Regions from separate parts of the Homo sapiens genome. Here region 1 is linked to region 2. Evidence: promoter capture Hi-C in 16 types of primary human blood cells and fetal thymus (Javierre and others, 2016). All regions are on one chromosome and are shown on one strand. The core of a region is centred on a gene start or on the middle of the fragment in contact, and the rest is flanking DNA. Distances in the headings are between cores, read along the strand shown. Region 1 holds the start of PIGC (phosphatidylinositol glycan anchor biosynthesis class C). Region 2 holds the start of RC3H1 (ring finger and CCCH-type domains 1).

Region 1 (6,038 bases), core at 343-2,842, 1.6 Mb before region 2:
CAATATTGGTATTTCCGAGCATGGATGTTTTTCCGGAGCTCTTCCAGGAATCGCCGGTCCACATAGTTATCAGGAAAGGGCTGTCGCTCATACAAGACCTTCTGCCACTTGACCTCCTTGGTGTTAGTCACAGGTTGAGCATACATTATCCTTTCATTCAAACTCAGGCCAGTTTAATCATCGCCCTCACAGAAGTCCAGGTGGTTCTTGTTCTTTATGAAGTTTTGAAATGAGACCTCCCTGGAAATTCCATGCTGTGTTGATGTTCTACCAACCTTTCCTTGTTTTCAAAGGCAGGGGCTAGGCCTACAATAGATGAATTTGTCTCTGAGGCAGGACAACACAGCCAAGTTCCTAGAAAAAGAGAGACTGTGAACCTACGAAAGTTGTGAAAGGTCAAGAGTAGTACTGAGATAAAGTCAAATCAACTCAGTTTACTAAAAGTCTGAGAAAAATGTATGTGGTAGTCACCTTATGGGACATTAAAACTGCATTTCAGATTTGAAAATTATAATTCCTTGAATAATAATAGACATCTGTTAGCTATCGCTTATTGAGTACCTACTATGTGCTAAGTGCCTTATGTATCTTCTTTCACTTAATCCTCACCACCTTGTAAGTTAGTATTAGTCCTGCTTTGGTAAAAAAGCTGAGATTCAAGATGCTTAAGTAACTTTGCCCTAAGGTAACAGAGCAGAGCCAGGATTCAAACCAAAGTCTTATCCCAAAGCCTGTGTCTCACATTGTATCTCCCTCTAAAGCAGTTCTTAACTCAGTGGTTCACATATCCCTTAGGTATATCACATTGCATGCTTATATCTGGATTTGTGTAAATTTATAGGGATAATATCCATAGTTTTTATTGGTTCTCAAAGGCATGTTATTTGTATTTTTTAAGTTACCAATCCAAAGACAATAGTAAGCTGCACCATACAGAAAGGTATGAGCTCTATAGTTTAACCAAAATCAAAGCCTCAAAGAAACTAGACTCTTCTTCCATTAGCTGAGCTTAGCATCCTTTAAAGAGCTATCAATCTACTCAAAACAAGGAAACTCTTGAGAGGATCGAAGAAGATAATCATTCCTTTTTCACAATGAGAAAACTAAGAGTCAGAAACACCACAGCCATCCGGCAAATTTGAGAAAAAAAAAATTCATATTGCCCGACTTTATTTCTTCCATGATAGACCACAACAAATATTGCTTGGCAAGCCAGACACCGTTACCCCCTCTGCAGCAGGGATCCCAGCCCGGGAATCTTAAGGCCGCCGCCGGGGTTGGAGGGTCTGCGACGCCCAAAAGGGCAGCGCCCGCCCGCAGAGTGGGGCTGGGAGGGGACGGGGTAGGGTAGGGTGACCCCAGGGTGCGCCTTCACTCTTCTGGCACCCCATTTGGCTTTTTGGGTGGGCCTCCCACTTCCGCCGCCGCCCCTCACTCAGCCTTGGGTCTGCGGGAGGCAGCAGAGGAAAAGGAGCCCCGGAAACACTGACCGTTACACGGAACCCACCTACCCGAGAGTTCCTAGGGTTGCGCAGCTGGGGGACGGCGGCACCCAGCCTTTTTCCCGCTTCGGGGCGCCGGGGCTGCGACTGTGGCCAAGCACTTCCGGGTCCGCCGCAATCTCCTTAGCGAGGGCACCCTTCCCCGGCTGGAACCATCGCGACGTGACTGCTGCCCCCTCCTGGCTGCTCGAAGGACCTCCGGTCTCCTCTCCTGGAGACTGGCCCAAACCCGAATGCTCTGAGCCTAGGAAGGCAAATCCCCAGCAATCCCCTATTGAAAGATGGGATGTGCCATCTGAAGGACTGGGTAAGGCAAGAGAGGACAAGGAAAGAGGCTGGGCCAGTAGGTGAGAGATAATGGCCGCTTTTGTTGCGCTCCTTTATTAAGTCAGGCCCTCAGCTGGGACTTCCCGTGCATCCATGCGTTCATTCCACAGATACTGATTGAATGCCTGCATGTAACAAGCCATGCTTGGGGTGCTCATGATACAGCCGTGAATGAAACACACAAAAATTGCTGCTCTCATGAAACTCTCTTTTTTGGTGCATTGACCTTTACACTGATTATATCATCTCCCCCCTCAAAGAGGACAAATCTAAGGCTCAGATAAGTTGTATTTGTCCAAAGACAGGCACCTGGGAAGTAGATGAACAGAGATCAATATCCAGTTGTCTATAGCTTCAAAGCTTGGTTTTTTTCCTCTTTACCTCCTAAAAGAAGTGAGGACAAGATTGCTAATTAAACTGAGTTCATGGAAATATTAAAGGATATATAAACAGAAGGAAGTAATAAAGAAACAAAGGGATGTAGTAAAACACAGGATACAGTGGAAATAAAAGTCAGAAAACATGACCCATTTACTAGCTCAGTGACTCAAGGCAAATCACACTACCTGAGCTTTGATTTCTTCATCAGTAAAATGGAGATGACATTATTTGCACTTGGCTACTTTATAGGATGGTTAAAGAGTTAAATATAAAAATGGTTTGTAAAGTGTTCACTATATGGCTGCTATTAGCTGACTTTGGCCATCGTAATGATAGCAATGTTTAAGTGTGATATATTCTGTAAAATGTTCTCTATTTCCCTCTAGGCTTCTGTTCCAAAATTTGACAAGATTCCTTGGCTTAGTGAGGCCAGCCTTGTAAACAAGCCATTAGTGCTCAGCCTTCCCAGAAGGTAACCTCTCAGCCACCGAGGGCAAAAGTTTTACGAAACATCTCACAGAAGATGATTTCTTCTTAAGGGATGGGGACAATTATCAGAGGGCACATTTGATCCATTGAGAAACTCAAGTCAAGTGCTTTAAAAATAGAAATAATCCGGGTTTCTCAGAAAAAAATGATCACTGAGTATAGGCCTGGCTAGAGGAGATGAGATCTCAAAATTTTTCCCTCTCCACCACTACCACTCAACAGTATAAGATAATTTTTCCCCTAGACACTGTCTCTCAAAACACTTCCATCCTCTTTCTCACCCCACATTTTCTCCACTGCTGTAGTCTGAAATTTTCACATTTTTACCATCAAAAGTCTAGAACAGTAAGTTCCCATCTTTATAGAATAGTAACTCTGTATGTAACTTTGAGGCACCCTCCTACATTCCTGTTAGTCCTACTCCTTCCAAACAAACTACTATATGACACATAAATCTATTTTTCAAAATTGCAGGAATTACATATCTAGGGAGCATTTCAACTGTCTCTTGAAATAATTGGGTTACCGTGTCCCTTCTCCATTTTTGATGAAATGGTTCCTAAGTGTAGTGATAAACCCCACTCTGGGAAGGGGACATGGACAGAAGGGTAGGTGTGAGGTAGTGTTGGGGTGAATGAGAGAAACCAGAAAGAGGGCAGAGAGAAAGAGAAAGGGCAGGCATAGAGGCCATTCCAAAGGCACACGACAGACTAAAAAGGAATGACTCCTTGGCATTCGAAACAGCTCGTTAGAAAAGCCAGACTCCCCAAAAAGAGTTTCTCCTCCTGTTGATAACTACCATGTACCCTCCTGCCCATGGATAAGTGACTTCATAAGCAAATTCCCATCACTGTCTCCACATCCCCACTTTAGTAACATGTACCTTTGCTTTGTCTACTGTACATTAAAAAAAAATCTCATTCTCAGTAAATAGGTAGACGGTTTTAGTATTTTCAGAACAAAATTCACAAGTGCTTTCAAGTGCTCGTTATTCAGTTGTGTTATTTTTACATAATTTTGAATATAACGAAAGCAGATTATCAGAGGTTCAATAAACTCAAAGGCCTATTTAAGAAACAAAAGTACTAAGTGATAGAGTGCTTATTAAGAGTTGTTAACACTGCATGGATCAGCACGAGTAAGGACAGTCTAGCATATTTTAATTGAGGGTGGGACACAAACTCACAGGCCCATGACAGTCAGATGAGGGGCATAATGAGTAAAGCTGGCCAAACAGGACTGCAATGAATGGGAAATCACCTCCCCGCTTCAGCCCACCCCCACGCCAGCAGTGTTACCTGCAGGCATGTGAGTCCAGAGGCCAGATCCACTGGGTCTTCTAACAGTACTAGAAATCTGGATGTTTTATGTGAAATTGCTAGTGTTTGATCTAATAGGGTAATATCCCACCATCCCATACTACCCCCATGCCCATTAGACCTGCCCCAGCAGCGAAGAGCAAAGTATCCTTGTGCATGGCTCTCTTGCCCCCAGCTCCCTTGGTCTCTAATTACACAAGCCTTTGGCAGAGGGTGGAGATCAGGGAGAAGGGTAGGCCTAGAATACAACTGGGCATCGGCAGCACCTGTTCACTTTCATAGCCAGGTCCTGGAGGGTCAGAGCAGACAGTCTGTTGACAGCCAACTGGAAAGGGAGTGGGCAGTTTTTCCTCCAGCCAGCCAAACCTAAGCTAGGCACAAGGAGAAATTACCTTAGGCAGGCAGTGAAGCTCTACTCATCGCTATTCTGGGAGGATTGGGGTAGCAATCTTAATTCTTGTTTAGAAAAATGTAATATACCTACCTCACAACAAAGGTGACCGAACAGCACCTTTGAGGTGCCCTGAGCTCTCAGGAGGACAAGACGGGAATGAAAAGTCTTTTGAAAGGATGGTTTAAGTATCAAAAGATCTTAAGGATTAAAAGCTCCTCATGTGGGCCAAAGCTCCGGGTTCCAAGCTGTTTATTTTTGGCAAAGCCCCTTACTGAGACTTTGGGAGAAAGTTCTCAATGTGCCTTAAGCATTACATACCCTTGAGCAAAGAGTTCTAATGCAGAACAGTCTGAAAAAAGATAAAGGAACATTTAGCCAAATATGCTCAGAGTAATTCCAAGTGTGCGCAATGGAAACACACCTACAGGGTTGGAGGAGGTGAGGCTGGGCTGTAATAAGAAGTGCCTGTACTGACCCACTTCCTTCAAGGACTCTCTCAGGTAGGCCTGACAATTTCAAAGCCACACTCATCGTCAGTCTCCAAAGCCCTTCAAGTCACACTAAGGTCATGTTTATATAAGATTATTGTATGCTGAAGGAGTTCTAAACTGGCCTCCTGGTCTCTGCTGGTCAGCATTTGGGTGACAAGTCCAAGAGAGCCTATTCCCATATCAAAGACAAAGACCCCGAGGGCACTCATGTCAGACCCACCATCTCTGGTCTTACAGGGCCCAGGGAAGTGTGAGGAGAAATGAAGCAAGAAATGTCTCATGAGCATCAAACTCCTTTCACATGCCTTTGTTTTAAATAAACAATGGACAATGAAATCTTCCCTCATTAGAGAGGAGGTGTGTTCCCGGCAAAACTGCCAGCATTCTGAGTTTCTATTTCTTGGATGCCAGGGGCATGAATGGTGCAACACACACAGTTTATGATTATCAGGCCCCTGCAGGCCTTGGCCCCTTACACTGTAATGAAATGAACCACAGTGCCAAGTGAGACAGAGCGCAGGCAGGTCACCCTGTAAAAGGAACTGGTGTTCTTGCAACATCACTGCTTCAACTGCTAACTAGAAAGAAAAAATGTTCCAAAGGAAAAGAATGGGTGAAGGGAGAAGACATTCTGTGGGAGGAAACAGGTGGATTGTTTCAGGGTGCAAGGACACAAACTCCAAGAAGTCAGCCCAGGTACGAAAGGGGACAGGTGCAGGTTAAACATCAAAAACTTGAGTGCAGACCCTTTCAAAGAGGAAACCTGGGATTCATTTCGCTCATTACACATCTACTGTTGTGAACAATCTTTATCCTGCCTTGTTTGTACAGTGTCTGACAATCCAAAATTGGTTAGTGCAAAACAAAAGGGACAGAAAAGCCAAAGTGACATAGGAGGGCAAATCCATCTTTTGGGAGCTCCCCAATGGCCTGAGTGCTCCAGAACTGGAGTGGAAGATAGCTCCCTGTGGTGTCCCTTGTATTCTCTCAGAAACAACCAAGGGCCTGGCTCTTCAAACATGGGACTGCGGTTCTAACGTTCTCTTGTTTTAATTACTTAGATATCCTCATACCTCTGCGACTTTTCTGACTTCATCCAAGAAGAATATGAATTTGCCAATTTTGTTTCAAGTTC
Region 2 (5,785 bases), core at 1,511-4,010:
TTATTTCTTCAAATAAATCAAGCATATATTAACTTTTAATATTACCAAGAAAATATAAATCTAATTCTTAAGCTCTGGTTCCAAAACTTCTTAGAAGTAAATTTTTATTACCTGAGAAAATGTGAACTTAAGTAATAAGTATTGATACTGAAGAAGGGACAGTTGAGTTTGTGTCAAAACTTAAAACTGTTTTGACACAAAATAAATAAAAACAATTCCCTAAATTTTTTTCCTATTGAACAGAAATACGGACCCAGACTAAGCCCATAAATTGCTGGGTCAATAACCAATCTGAAATACAAAACCTTACCACTTAAAAATATTTATTTTCAGGAAAATGATATTAAATATGAGGTAAATCTGCCCTTGACATAACACGGTGAGATTGTTTTCATAACACAGCACATGAACCACTTAAAACTTACAACCTATAAATTACTACAATTGTTCTAATAGGTTTAGGGCCATACATAAATTTAAGTATCATTATAACACAGACTTTACTTGGAATCTGTGCTGACCTAACAAAATTAGCACAGAAAAAAAAAAAAAATCACAGATTTGAGCACCTGAAAAACGGTGTCCTTTCTGAAATATCTGCAAAAAAGTCACAACATCAGGAGCCATAGAAAGTTGTTATTTCTCCATCATTCAAAAAATCAAAACATCTCCAACATTATTTATGCTAAGCATAAAATGAAGGTCAGTATTGATATTCATTCACTATACTTCAAATCCTAAACAAGAAAATTCAACCTTTATGTTTATTCAATTGCTAATCTATTCAGTGTCAATTGTTGTGGAAGAACTAAGAACTAGACTAGTGCTGCTTATAATGTTTTTAATTAGAACAGACTTGGACCAATTCTACTTAGAAATTTACCCTTAGAAGAGGTGAAAGATATTAACTGGCATCTTTTCAGCACAGGTCAGTGCTGAAAAGAACACAACCTATAACCCTTAGGCCTTGCAGTTGAATGTTAACAAGTGAAAAGCAATCTCCTTGGATGTATCCAAGCGATTTTAATATAAATTTCTGCATACCTAGGTAGAAAGTACTTTAGAAATAAATCTACCTTTTCCCTCACTTGTAAGAAAATGTGGTAGAAGCCTTGAAAAATTAAGTTTAAGGCTGAGCGAGGTGGCTCACGCCTGTAATCCAAGCACTTTGGGAGGCGGAGGAGGGCAGATGACTTGAGGTCAGGAGTTCCAGACCAGCCTGGCCAACATGGTGAAACCCCGTCTCTACTAAAAATACAAAAATCAGCCGGGCATGGTGGCGGGCGCCTGTAATCCCAGCTACTCCGGATGGTGAGGCAGGAGAATCGCTTGAATCCGGGAGGTGGAGGCTGTAGTGAGCCGAGATTGTGCCACTGCAATCCAGCCTGGGTGACAGAGCAAGACTCCGTCGCAAAACAAAACAAAAACGAAATCAAATTTCAAACTCAGAGAAAAGACTGGTCTTGAACAATTTCAGGAAAAATTACTGAAACACGAGACAAGGCACAAGAAGCTCTATGGCCGGAGATGAACCACCTGTCTCCTTTCGAAGTGCTTCCTGAGGTCCACTTTATGCTAGTTAATGTTGCTTCTTATACTGCATGTTAGTAATTCAAAACGCCTAGCTGGAATAAAAGTCCTCTTTAAACATTACAGTTTGTCTCCGCGTTGCCAGTGTTTGTTTCCAGTTTCATAGGCTATTCTGGTATGTCAAGAGTTGTGTTATTACTGTTCCAAAAGAGCCCTTGTTTCAATCCACTCTCACCTGGGATGCGGGCATAACTGATGTTTATAGAACTGATACTTAGAGATGTTTAGAGAGGCGCATCCCTTACCACTCCATCCTTTACCGATAACCACATTTTATATGTTTTTGTTGCATTTAAGTTTTTTGTTTTTTTTTTTTAAAGACACCTGCACACACACAATTTTCCCATCGCCAGCAGGGAGAAGACTACCAGGCTAGATCTCCAGGGACTTCAGGGAAACAGACACCGTGAAATCCACTTGGCCAAAGAAGGGGAGCGCTTCAGGGGCTGGGGGAGGAAGCAGCCCTGAGGTGCTGGGAGGCCGAGGCGGCGCCTGTTTACAGACGCCTTCGCCCTCCCCCACCCCCACAGACTAGGGGTCCAAAAAGCAGTTCCCGTGCGCATTCCCCGCCTGGCCCAGGCCCTGGGAGTACCACAGGAGCCAGGTAGCCCTTTCGCCCCCTCCCTCTCGTCCGAGCCTCCCTTCGTCCTCCTCTCGGCCTACCTACCCCGACAGGCCCTACAGGCGGCATGCAGAGGCCTGAGGCCTAAAGGACGCCGGCCACTGACAAGCCCCAGAACAGCCGGCGGGGGCCCTGAGGAGCCTGGGGCCGGCCGGGCTGCCGCTGCCGCGGAGGAGCAGAGGGCGGGCGAGGACAAACCCTTCCCGACCACAGCTGCCTATTGTTCCCGACTGAGGCCCCGGCCGCGGCAGCCCCGCTCCCCAAGTCGCCGCCCGCCGCTCGCTCACCGCGCTGGTCCGAGCAGCAGCTCCTCTCAGCTCCGAGTCCCCGCGGCCGTCGCCACCGCCGCGGCAGCCGCCGCCGCCGCCGAGGCCACCGTTGACTCTGATTCTGTCCCAGGCCGCCGGGCCACGGCTGCCGCCGCCACCGCCAGCACCGCCTCCGGCCTCCCACCTGCTGCTGCTGAGGCTGCTCCTGCAGCAGGGGCCATCTTGTTGCTCGGCCTCCTCTTCCTCCTCCTCGTCCTCCGCCGCCCAGTCGCTCGTTGTCCTCGTCCCCTTCCTCTTCCTCAGGCTCCGGCCCGCCCCGGAGACTGGGGCGGAGACGAGGGCGAGGATCCTCCCTCAGGAGGCGGGGCGGGCGGAGGGGAGGGGCGGGCGCGGGAGCAAAGCTCTGAGTCACCGGCCACCAACGCCCGGAGGGAGACCGGCGACGCTCTCCGCCGCGACCGAAAGTCTCACACGCCCTGAGCAGATGAACCGGTCCCTCGGTCCGGTCTGCCCTCCCGCACCGGCGCCTTTGGGCTCAGCGGGCCAGTGGCCAGATGGCGAGAGTAAATTGGGGGAATTTCTTTCGTTTCCATCGAACCCCACACTACGTCTACTCTTTCGGCTTTCTCAGCCGTTGTCCCCCAACTCTTGTTTCTTTTTCACGTCTTGTCCCCCACCCCATTTTTCTTCTTCCATATTATCCAGGTTCTGGATCTCATCAGCTTTGTCCTCGTCACCCCTCTGGGAGTTCAGCCTCCTAAGGCTGTGAAACAGCCCAAAAGGCCCGGACACGCTACTCCAAAACGTCTCTCCTGGGCTGTGTGAACAATAAGAGCTATTTGGGGACGACAGGAAAAGATATGGCCCATAGAAGGGCTCCTGAAATCTAACCTTGCGACTCTTTAAAAGTTTCTTGTCCCTTGTGGAAAAGGTGCCGTTTTGGTTTTGGGGAATGGGAGGTCCCTTCAGACAATTCATTTTAGCCAAACCCTCGCTTTTGAGAAGGGGAAGAAATGGGATTATTGTAACACCATACAGTACTAATTTCAAAATAAATCATCTAGAATAGAGGAGAGAGAGAGTCCCCAAATAAACAACCATTTAATACCTCTACTCGGCGCTATCACCTTTTTTGCTTCAGGATTTGACCAAGAGAGCAGAGATTATGTTTTTCTGTCCTTTCTTCACTGTTTACATCACAGTACCCCAAGAGAAGCACTTCTGCCTTTAACTTGATACATTGGAATCGCTATCACAGATAGTGTTTTTGTATTATTTTTAAGAAATATCACACACCTTCCTAAACTCTTGGCAGAGAAGAATTCTTTTTAGTTGTTAGCACCCTCCTGCTACTGAGATCTCAGCTTCTGTTTAGAAGACCTATTGTTGTCTTTCCACTGATTGGAATTTGCTGCCTCTGAACTGGGTTTAATCTGTAATCGTCTTTTCAGCCTACTAAATAGTAACCCCAGTCCTACAGAGAGTGAATTTCTAGCTACCACAGGGGGATTTAGGTTAGCATGTGCCAATCTAAAGGGATCTCTTAAAGCCTTTCCCTTCTCAGACCAGGCCTCTGTACCCTGCTAGGAAAAACAGATTAATCTGCTCCTCCTGCTTTTCCTCCTCCTCCCTTCTTCTCACTCCTAGGGAACCTTCCACAACAGAAGGTTTTAGCGACTGTTGCTAGGCAAACATGCCAACTTCCTTGTTTAGGTGAAGCGAGTAACTCAACTTCCATTGCAAGTAACCTAGATAATGTAATTTCTTTGAACTATTAATAGTTATACCACAGTTGGTAAGGCTCCTTAAAGGTTCCCTTAAGCAGTATGATTTTTACGTTGTTTATTTTTATCTCGTCAATATTTCAATTAAAAATACGTTAAAGGACAGATAGATGCAGTGGCTCACGCCTGTAATCCCAACATTTTAGGAGGCTGAGGGGGGCGGATCACCTGAGGTCCGGAGCCTGACCAACGTGGAGAAACCCCATCTCTACTAAAAATACAAAAATTAGCCAGGTGTGGTGGCGTGCACCTATAGTCCTAGCTACTCGGGAGGCTGAGGCAGGAGAATCACTTGAACCTGGGAGGTGGAGGTTGTAGTGAGCCGAGATCACGCCATTGCACTCCAGTCTGGGCAAAAAGAGCTAAACTCTGTCTCAAAAAAAAAAAAAAAAAAAAAAAAAAAGTTAAAAATGGCGGCGCTTCCCCAAACCCAAATTCATTTTAGTGATATAAAGATGCATTTGACAGAAAAAGAAGAGCAGCTTTGAAGAAAACACTTATGCTTACAATAAAAAATAAAAAACTAATCTGTGAGAAGTCATATGTTTTCAACTCCCCAGTCAGACTAGAAGTGTAAGATACAGGGGATAAGGCCGGGAGCGGTGGCTCACGCTTGTAATCCCAGCACTTTGGGAGGCCGAGGCAGGCAGATCACGAGGTCAGGAGATGCAGACTATTCTGGCCAACATGGTGAAACCCCGTCTCTACCAAAAATACAAAAAGCCCGGCGTGGTGGCGCGCGCCTATAGTCCCAGCTACTCAGGAGACAGAGGCAGGAGAATCACTTGAACCTGAGAGGCAGAGGCTGCAGTGAGCCAAGATTGTACCACTGCACTCCAGCCTGGATGACAGCAAGACTCGGTCTTGGCAGAGCATTGTGGCCCACGCCTGTAATCCCAGCACTTTGGGAGGCTGAGGAGGGTGGCTCTCCTAAGGTCAGGAGTTCAAGACCAGCTTGGCCAACATGGTGAAACCCCGTCTCTACTAAAAATACAAAAAAATTAGCTGGGCGTGGTGGCAGGCACCTGTAATCCCATCTACTAGGGAGGCTGAGGCAGGAGAATCCTTTGAACCTGGGAGGCGGAGGTTGCAGTGAGCCGAGATCGTGCCATTGCACTCCAGCCTGGGCAACAAGAATGAAACTCCGTCTCAAAAAAAACACCAAAAATTAGCTGGGCATGGTGGTGCACGCTTGTAATCCCAGCTACTTGGGAGGCTGAGACAGGAGAATCGCTTGAACCTGGTAGGTGGAGGTTACAGTGAGCCGAGATCACGCCACTGCACTCCAGCCTGGCGACAGAGCAAGACTCCATCTCAAAAAAGAAAAAAAGAAAAAAAAAAGATACAGAGGATAATTTATCTCTTGAAATTGAGTCTATTTAAAATAAAGATAATATGAATATTCAGCAAGGGGGAAAAAAGATATTCTGGGTTTTATTCCTAAATTAACAATTATTTGAAAATTTAGCTAGGGAAATAAGCTTTTTTTAAAAATTTTATTTAAAATGTTTTTACTCTTG

Evidence for each region. The method cuts DNA at HindIII sites, captures the fragments that hold promoters and counts their contacts. A CHiCAGO score of 5 or more calls a contact.
Region 1: a contact is called between the fragment with the promoter of PIGC here and the fragment with the promoter of RC3H1 in region 2, in 1 of 17 cell types (total B cells). The highest score is 5.2, in total B cells.

The regions. Positions count from the first base shown.
Region 1 is chr1:172,442,477-172,448,514 of GRCh38, forward strand. PIGC (phosphatidylinositol glycan anchor biosynthesis class C) reads right to left here and starts at 1,593. Exons shown (of 2, transcript NM_153747.2): 1 at 1,512-1,593; 2 at 1-354. The coding sequence starts at 146. C1orf105 (chromosome 1 open reading frame 105) reads left to right here. Exons shown (of 7, transcript NM_139240.4): 2 at 2,597-2,682; 3 at 5,965-6,038. RefSeq lists enhancers at 1,425-1,948, 1,672-1,981. The HindIII fragment of the contact is 3,601 bases long and covers 1-2,187 here.
Region 2 is chr1:174,019,597-174,025,381 of GRCh38, forward strand. RC3H1 (ring finger and CCCH-type domains 1) reads right to left here and starts at 2,761. Exons shown (of 20, transcript NM_172071.4): 1 at 2,500-2,761. It overlaps RC3H1-DT (RC3H1 divergent transcript), which reads left to right and starts at 2,887. Exons shown (of 2, transcript NR_187284.1): 1 at 2,887-3,044; 2 at 3,187-3,594. RefSeq lists enhancers at 1,387-1,506, 1,571-2,110 and silencers at 2,317-2,636, 2,747-2,996. The HindIII fragment of the contact is 5,810 bases long and covers 1-5,744 here.